Regions from separate parts of the Homo sapiens genome. Here region 1 is linked to region 2. Evidence: promoter capture Hi-C in human tissues and cell types (Jung and others, 2019). All regions are on one chromosome and are shown on one strand. Each heading gives the region's core, a stretch centred on a gene start or on the middle of the fragment in contact. The rest is flanking DNA. Distances are from core to core; before and after follow the strand shown. Region 1 has its middle 47 kb from the start of COMMD2. Region 2 holds the start of COMMD2 (COMM domain containing 2).

The links. Contacts are between HindIII fragments. The study calls those that stand out against the background at their distance.
Region 1: a fragment that was not itself captured here is called in contact with the fragment with the promoter of COMMD2 in region 2 in 1 of the 25 tissues and cell types used here (adrenal gland).

What each region holds. Positions count from the first base shown.
Region 1 is chr3:149,703,057-149,707,806 of GRCh38, forward strand. It overlaps a transcript of WWTR1 not described here. Among named protein-coding and RNA genes, the nearest start is that of COMMD2, 47 kb to the right of the region's middle. The HindIII fragment of the contact is 5,305 bases long and covers 842-4,750 here.
Region 2 is chr3:149,751,239-149,755,555 of GRCh38, forward strand. COMMD2 (COMM domain containing 2) reads right to left here and starts at 1,251. Exons shown (of 5, transcript NM_016094.4): 1 at 1,140-1,251; 2 at 972-1,049; 3 at 165-247. The coding sequence starts at 1,206. RefSeq lists a silencer at 1,407-1,476. The HindIII fragment of the contact is 2,909 bases long and covers 1-2,554 here.

The DNA.
Region 1 (4,750 bases), core at 2,244-4,743, 46 kb before region 2:
GCCCACCCTAAGTCCAAATCTCCACGTCTTACTCTACAGAAAGAAGGCTGAATATAAAGTCTCCTACCAAAATAGATACTGAATGTACATGTCTTCTCATTATGGAGATTTTAGTCACTCTGAGGTTTCTCTCTTGAGAGTCGCCAGGATGTGAGCTGAAATGAGTCAATATAAGGCCTTGTGTTTGGGAGTCTCTGGTGTTGTAGAGGAGTGTGTCATAAAGTGGGAGCCTGGATTTCAGAGTCCATCTGGAGCACACATGTTGTTTACATCTATAATGACATAAAAGGTGATGAACAACCCAAAAGGGTTTTGCCAACAAACAGAAATATTTACCACACAACAGTTATGACGGCCAAAATATTAAAACCCAGTTAGAAATTAAATGAACACATTTACAAAGCTATTCTCAGGCACATTACTTTATCTTAGATTTCTTAGATTTGGGATTCTGGCACAGAAAATCTAATTTTTCAGAAAAAAAGTATTACATTAAGAATATCTCCTCCCCACCCTCATTTTGGTTTGGATGTTTATACCCTCCAAGTCTCATGTTGAAATGTGACCTCCAGTGTTGGAGGTGGGCCTCTTGGGAGGTGTTTGCGTCATGGGGGTGGATCCTTCATAAGAGGGTTGGTGCTGTCCTCGACATAATGAGTGAGTTCTCACTCTATGAGTTCACAAGAGATCTGGTTGTTTAAAACAAGCCTAGCAATTCCTCACTGTCTCTTTTGCTCCCTCTTTGCCATGTGACACATCAGCTCCCCTTCACCTTCTGCCATGATTGGAAGCTTCCTGAGTCCCCATCAGAAGCAGATGCTGGCGCATGCTTCTCATCCAGCCTGTGGAACCATGAGCCAAAATAAACCTCTTTACCTTATAAATCACCAAGCTTGAGTATTCCTTTATAGCAACACAAGAATGGACTGATAAACCTCTGAGATGGGCTTTCCTTCTGTCACCAAGGCTGGAGTGCAGTGGCATGATCATGGCTCATTGCAGCCTTGAACTTCTGAGCTCAAGCAATCCTCCCACCTCAGCCTCCCAAAATGCTGAGATCACAGGCATGAGCCACCATGCCTGGCCAAGAATATCTTTTTAAAAATGCTGATTAAAGATGGCTGATTGAACAAATGTGTTTACCCCCAAACCTCTATTAAATTAAAAATAAAAGGATTTTAACAAATTAAAAGGGGGAGAAAATAATGACAGCAACAAAATTTTAAGAGCTAAAAAATAGGATACTTTGCATATCACGTAACAAACTAAGAAGGCTAAATTCTAAATCAGCACAGGGGAAACCAAGAAGCAAGCCATTTCCCAGGGTAGGCTACCCCAAAAGCCTCCCTCCCAAATGCAGTTTAGTGACTGCTGCAGAAGATATAACAGAGGGTCTCTAAGCCAGAGCTAGGACACTAGGCACGATAAAGACTGGGAATATTATGCTGAAAGCAGACAGATTTGAAAAAAGGCTTATATAATGAAGCACTATTCTCAGTCCAAATTCAACCTCCAGAACAGAGGCAGCCAGCATAAGGAACCATTCTAGGAAGGAGAGGAGACATTTACCTTCTAGAAAACTTGCTCAGACCAAGAAAAAAGACCTAAAGACAAGGACATCCCCCTCCCATAGAAATGGCCCAGACTGATCATTCTAAAGACAAAAGGTAACAAGCTTCATCCATGGCACAGAGGTGCCCATTAGCTCTAAAATACAAGTGAAGGGCCAGAATTATCAGACATCTGAAAAAAGCCCCTACCAAAGAAGAGAGAGACAGAACACACAAAAGTTAAAAAAAAAAAAACAACAACAACAAACAACGAAAAACAAAACAAAACAAAAATTAGAGAGGAAACAAAGTCTTGAGAATATGCAGGGAAATAAAAGCTTTTAAAAAAGCTAATAATATCTTCAGAGAAGTAAAAAGATGTTATAAGAACAGGATGAAATAAAAAGAACAAAAAATAACTCTTAGAAATTTGAAATATAATAATGGAATTTTAAAACTTAGACAGTTTATATGATAAAGTTGAGAAACTAGGAAAATAAAGCTAAAAGACAAAGAAAAGGACAATAGGAAAGAAAAAACAATCAGAGGATCAGTCTACAAGGTACAATATTTCAATAAACAGGAGTTCCAGAAAGAAAGAGAACAGAAAAATTGATGGGGAGGAGCTCATAATAAATCAATAATTCAAGATTTCAAAAACCAAAGGATGTGAGCTGCCAGATTGATAGCGCCCCCAAAATACCTAGACAATGGATGAAAATAGACCATTGTGAAATGTCAGACCCTTAGAAATAGGAGAAAATCCAACAAGCTTTCAGAGGGAAAAAGCAGGTATCAAGACCAAGAATTCAAATGTCAGAAAACAATATGAGATAGTAATCATGAACTTGTAGTTGTACAAGAGACAAGATGCCATTTTCAGTTTCTACAAAATAAAGTGAAACAGTAGGTAGAACTTTAAAGTAACACTTAGGGGGAGAAACCCTGATTCCAAAACATATATCTGTTGGGCAGGAAATTGAAAGCAAATGCTCAGTGTTTTGGAGTTGGATTGCAAAATAGATTATAGCAGGGATTTCTTCTTAATCCTTATATATCAACAAAACCACAGTAAGAATAGCTAACCTGGACAACTAATCATTAAGCACTGAAAACATATATTAGCTTGTGCACTCCTCATGACAATTCCAACTGGCAAAAATAGTTATAATTTTCAAAATGAAGTTATGCTAATTAAGTAATTTTCTCAAAGTTTCATATAATTGGGTAAGAGGAGGAGCTAGAATTCAAACTCCAAAATCTGTTTATTTAACTACTATGCCACACAGCCCTGAAAAATAATGTTGCAGTGCGGTGGCTCATTTCTGTAATCCCAGCACTGTGGGAGGCCAAGGCGGGTGGATTGCTTGAGTCCAGGAGTTTGAGACCAGCCTGGGCAATATTTGAAACTCCGTCTCTACAAAAAATACAAAAATTAGCCAGGTGTGGTGGCATGTGCCTGTAGTCCCAGCTACTCAGGATAAGGGGCTGAGGCAGGAGGATTGCTTGTGCCTGGGAGGTGGAGGCTGCAGTGAGCTGAGATCACACAATATACCACTGCAGTCAAGCCTGGGTGACAGAGAGAGACTCTGTCTCAAAAGAAAAAATAAAAAAGAAAAAAAGAAAAAGAATGTTCACATGTAAATTTTTCGTGCACATTCTATAATGTTCACATTTAAATATTTGTAAACCTTAGTATTTCTACTAACACTGACTTCTTTTATTTTTTGAGACAGAATTTCACTCCTGTTGCCCAGGCTGGAGTGCAATGGCGTGATCTCGGCTCACCACAACCTCCGTCTCCTGGGTTCAAGAGATTCTCCTGCCTCAGCCTCCCGAGTAGCTGGGATTATAGGCATGCACCACCACGCCCGGCTAATTTTGTATTTTTAGTAGAGACAGGGTTTCTCCATGTTGATCAGGCTGGTCCCGAACTCCTGACCTCAGGTGATCCACCCGCCTCAGCCTCCCAAAGTGCTGAGATTACAGGAGGTTGGCCACCATGCCTGGCCAACACTGACTTCTTAGAGATAGCAGAAAAAGGTGTATCAGAACTCTATTTTATATCCTTATATTTTGAGCAAGAGGGAACAAGGAGAAAGAAGGGAGATCATCTTAATATTATTATAAAGTAAAACACTATTTTATGAACTTTTTAGAATAGAATATCTTGCTGAGCTGGCAGGACTTCTAGGAAACCTTTTAAGAAAAGGAAGGTCTCAGTGATACATATACAAAACAAAGCAGCAATATTTCAGTTTTAGCTGGACTACCACTCAATTGCTCCGTGGTATTAGTGCCAAAACTACAATAAGGTTTTGCGCAAGACTTTTATAAGTTGGTCTGACAGCCATTTTTATTTACACAAGCCACCCCCCAACCCCAATACTGAATTTTCCATATTAATGTGTTTCCATTGTTCTCAGATGGGCCTTCAGTAACTTTAGCCCTCTTCCAGATGTTTCCTGACATCAGCATCCAAGATGTGCTGGCCAGCTGTCTTTAAAATTGCGGGAACTCTGTGTTGTGTGCATTAGTTATGCAAATGGAAAAGCAAGGACAAGGAGCCAATGTAGAGGATAAAAAAGAACTAGGGGAGGGATTGGCCAGGCTTCACTAGCACATGCAGTGTAGGGAGAAAGCCAAGACAGCAAGCTGTCTTTGATCAAAGCCCCCAGCAAACTTCACCACCGCTCCCCATGCAGAGGGGTTAGTGTCCTCAGTTTCCAGGCCAGGCCTGGGTTTTTGGAAGCTTCCTCAGTCTGTTTTGGTGACTTAATAGGGACACATTGAATATTCACAGATTTATCAACTATCTAACCAGTTTCTCCTCTGCTTCCCTTTGTCAACTAAGAAATATCTTCACGAACAGGAGAACAATTCCCCAAAGTGTAGTCCTCATTAAATTAATAGATGTTTTATGAAAAAAAAGGCAGGGCAGTCACATGAGTTTAGGAAAACCTAGGTTTAACAAAATTAAGCAATTCCCTTTCCCAGAACACTCTGAGGGCCTCTGATATATTCATGTGCACTGTGAATATCAGAGGGAATCATTTCTCAGAGGACTCAGAGCCTACCTAAGGAAATGCTACACTAGAGGCAATGTAGGTTCTCAGCTCCAGTCACCCTTTCAGGAGGCAAACTGACTGCCAATTGAATATGTTTGCATGTCCCCAAACATATGTGTCTCTTACTGAACT
Region 2 (4,317 bases), core at 1-2,500:
AGATGATATGATTTTTATTTTTTAGGTATGTCTTCAAAAAATCAATTATAAACCATTAACAACATTATTAAAACACACAGGTACCTGCCAGGACTATGATGTAGAGTACACCAGACCGTTCTTAAGAATCCAGCCAACACAAAACAGTCCAGAAAATCCCTTACCATGAGCTTTGAGCTCTCAGTGAGGAGATACGTTAATCCTTCCACACCATGCTGGACAGTGTCACTACTCACATTGAGTTTTCCTGAGAAAGAAAAGTAAAAACGAGCAAATAAATTACTACTGTAGTATTTATCTTGTTCATATTTGTATTTAAAAATAAACACTATTCATTATTACATGTTTTCAAACACTGCATGAAAAACAGTAAGTTGGCCAGAGGCTCCTGCTCCTTGTCATTCCACTCCCAGCCAAATGCCTTTGGTATTTCCCACCAAGTAACCTTAACAAAATGCAGAACTGTGGAGACTAGTATCAGGTGCGTAGCCCTTCTCTTGAATACGTAGCTCCTTCAAGTCTGGCAGAAGAGGAACTCGACAGGGATTGACTTAATCCCAGAGACTGCCTCTTACCCAGGGGTAAAACAACACTTTTTTTTTTTTTTTTAGCAAAAGCGGATATCTGAACAACTAATAATGATAACCAAATACTTGCAATTTACAGTTGACCCAGCTATTCCACAGACTTTGGTATATTTATACAAAACACTTTTCAGTATTTCTGAAAGTAAGGTGGTATTATGTACATTTTACCATGAGAAAACTGATTTAATAGAAGCTTTAACAATCTCACAGCTACTTAAGGGACGGGCAGGATTTGCACCCTGACTGAAGAGCTCTGCTGGTTTTATTCTACTACAATCGGAACAAGACCCTAGGACTCGCAATAATCCGTTTCTCTCCCGGGAGACAGGGAATGGCTCGCAACCGCCCTAGAAGCCTGCGGAGCCTTCCCCTTTCCCTTCTTACTGGCGGCGCCTTCGTAGATTTTTGGGTTTGCGCCGCGTCTCAGGAATTCCACAGCAATCCGCCCAAACTCGGCGACCACTGCAATGAAAGTCAGAAGGCTGTTGAGTGCCAGGCGCTGCCTTTGACCTCCTCCCCAGCCCACAGAACACCGCCCCCACGCCCGCTGACCCGCGCTGTCCACTTGAGGCAGGAAGGCCAGGTGTTCCTTATGCTCCTCGGACAATTCCAGCAGCATCTTCACTGTCCTACGATTTCACCCGGCAGCGCCGACCCCGCCTTCGCCACTTCCGGCGCCCGTGTCCCGGCGCCTAGAGGCTCCGGCGTCGCAGCGTCCGGAGCTTTGGGTTCCGGCCTACGAACTAACGCGTTACACTCGGACGTTCCCTGCAGCGCAGGCTGAGGTCAGAACATTGAAATCATCCCGCAAAGATGCAGTGAGCGCCTGCTGGGTGCAAGGTGCTAGGCTCTATGGGAGATGAAAAGGTGTTTCAAATCCGACACGCCCCCTCGTGGAGCATACATTAATAATATCAATAGTTCACATTTGTTAAGCACTAACCGTGTCAGGAAGTGTTCTTACATTTATTAAATACATTTGGAGTTCAGAAGAACCCTATGAGGTAGGTTCCATTATAATTTCCATTAGAGATAAGGAAACTGATAGACAAGTCCAGCAACTGACACTTTTATAAAGCTAATAGTTTCCAGAGCTTCTATGTTATCTTAAATGTATCTCAGTTAATATCCTCAACAAACATGGCTTTGTTTTTACAGATAAGACACAAAGCTCCAGAGATTATGTGACAAAGCCTGTGACAGAGTTAGATGGAGAGGGTTGGATCCCTCACTTACCTGCTGCAAAGCCCATCCTTCTACATAACAGCCTGAAAGCTGAAAGCTTCTGACAAGTTTTATGAGTGATTATAAATTAGGATAAAGATAATGATGACAATGACCGATGCTTACAGGATTCAGAGCAATGTTTTTGTTTGTTTGTTTTGTTTTGTTTTGTTTTTTACATGGAGTCTCGCTCTGTCGCCCGGCTCACTGCAACCTCTGCCTCCCGGGTTCAAGCGATTCTCCTGCCTCAGCCTCCCGAGTAGCTGGTATTACAAGCGCCCACCACCATGCCTGGCTAATGTTTGTATTTTTAGTAGAGACGGGTTTTCACCATGTTGGCCAGGCTGGTCTTGAACTCCTGACCTCAAGTCATCCAGCCAACTTGGCCTCCCAAAGTGCTGGGATTACAAGCATGAACCACCACACCTGGCCCAGAGCAATGCCTTTTAAAAAGTATTTAGCGCCTGTGATAATTTAGTTCCTTTTCCAACTCTCTTCTCACCTGCTGTGGTTCAAATATCAGAGATGATAAAGTTGCTAATTGATAGGAATATGATTCTTCAAATCTTAACCCCTTGAAAATGGAGGGTGTGGAGGAAGAGAGGGGAAGGGAAGAAGACTCTTCATATCTGTCTTTTCTATCTAAGGCTTGAGACAACTCTATATTCTGAGTCTCCCAGGCAGACTAAAAATTGGAAGAGTTTTTCAATTCACTTCTCTGTGTCTACTTTGTCCTTCACATCTGACTGAAATTGTTTCTTCCACTGGGACACAGAAAGACAGGTCCTTGAACTTATTAGTTAGTTCTTGAAGTAGCATTTGCAGAGAGAACACAACTTTTACTTAGACTGTGAATTGCAGATTAGCAAAAATTGCATCATTTCCTGAAGTTGCCTTTATTCACACATTATTGAGAAAACATCCATTATTAAAGAATAATTTTCAGAAAAGGTAAAATCATGATTCTTCTACAAGTGTACAATGAACACATGTCAAAAAATGTATTGAACTAGTTAATTAATGAGAGAATTACAGCATTCTGTAATTAATGAGAGATTACAGTAAAAACCAGTTTCAACTGATTCAAAAGAGGTATTCAAGAACTGTACATATATAGGGAGTAGGAATGCTGAAATGAATTTGCAAATAGACACAATATTATGCCAATATGAAATGGCCTTTCTTGTCTGTAATCTCAGGGAATGAAGTGAGGACAGGCGAGGTGAAGGTGAGACTAGGGAGTAGCACAATAGGCTGTCTAAAAAAGGTGGTCAAGGAACCAAGTTAGGCCAGGTATGGTGGCTGATGCCTGTAAACCCAGCACTTTGGAAGGCCAAGGCGGGAGGATCACTTGAGGCCAGAAATTCAAGTCTAGCCTGACCAACATGGTAAAACCCCATCTCTACTAAAAATACAAAAATTAGCAAAGCTTGGTGGCATGTACCTGTGGTCCCAGCTACTTGGTAGCCCAAGGCATGAAAATTGCTTGAACCTGCGAGGCAGAGGTTGCAGTGAGCAAGATTTGAGTCACTGCACTCCAGCCTGGGTGACAGAGTCAGACACTGTCAAAAAAAAAAAAAAGAAAGAAACCAAGTTATATCCAAGAAAAACCAGCCTGGGAGTTAAAACACCCCAGGATAATTTATAGAGTGACTTCTGTTGCCATAAGTGATATAATTGTTTAGAAAAAATTACCTGAGTGAAAATTCAAAACTCTAGATTCCAGATCTGGCTCTGACACTACCTGTATGACTTCTAATAAGTTGTTTTTATGTTATAACCATAGCCTCTTCGTCTGTAAAACTGGCATTTTAATACTGCCCTTCTGTGCCATGCAGGGCTGTTATGATGCTCAGATGAACTAATAAATTCACATTAAAAATTGATTTTGATGATCAAATGAAACAATAAATTAGAATTAAGCAAACAGCAGCATTTACATTTTATAGGAGCAGATTTTATGCTCCTATAAATTCACAAATAATCATCTTAAAAGCCATTCATTTAATTTAACAAACTTTATTAAGCAATTCCTTAAAGGTTCAAAGATATGCTATGCTTTGGCAATTTGTAGATGAATAAAACAATGTCCTTGCCCTCTAGGAGGTGTCAGAAAAGTGAGGGAGAAAGATAATGAAGTAATTTCCATACAGTGTGATGAGTAGCAATACTTGGAGAATGAACAAAATGAGAAGGAAGCATAGGGAATGTACATTAACTCTAATTTAAAAGAATCAGGCTGAGAATAAATGTCCCAGCATATCCTGTGCATGTTAATACTAATGCTCTACAATTAGATTTACATTATAAATATATACAGTCTTAATGTCACTTCATGCTATCTTACTTCCAGGGTGAATGTGAACAAATAATAAATACTCAGTATTTTTTTCAATTGATGCTGGTAGAGAACAAGGCTTCATATCAATCATCCCCTCACATTCTCTCTGCATCTTTCTATCCCCCTCCAGCTCATACGTCTTTCTTTTCTCTTATATTTTCCCAT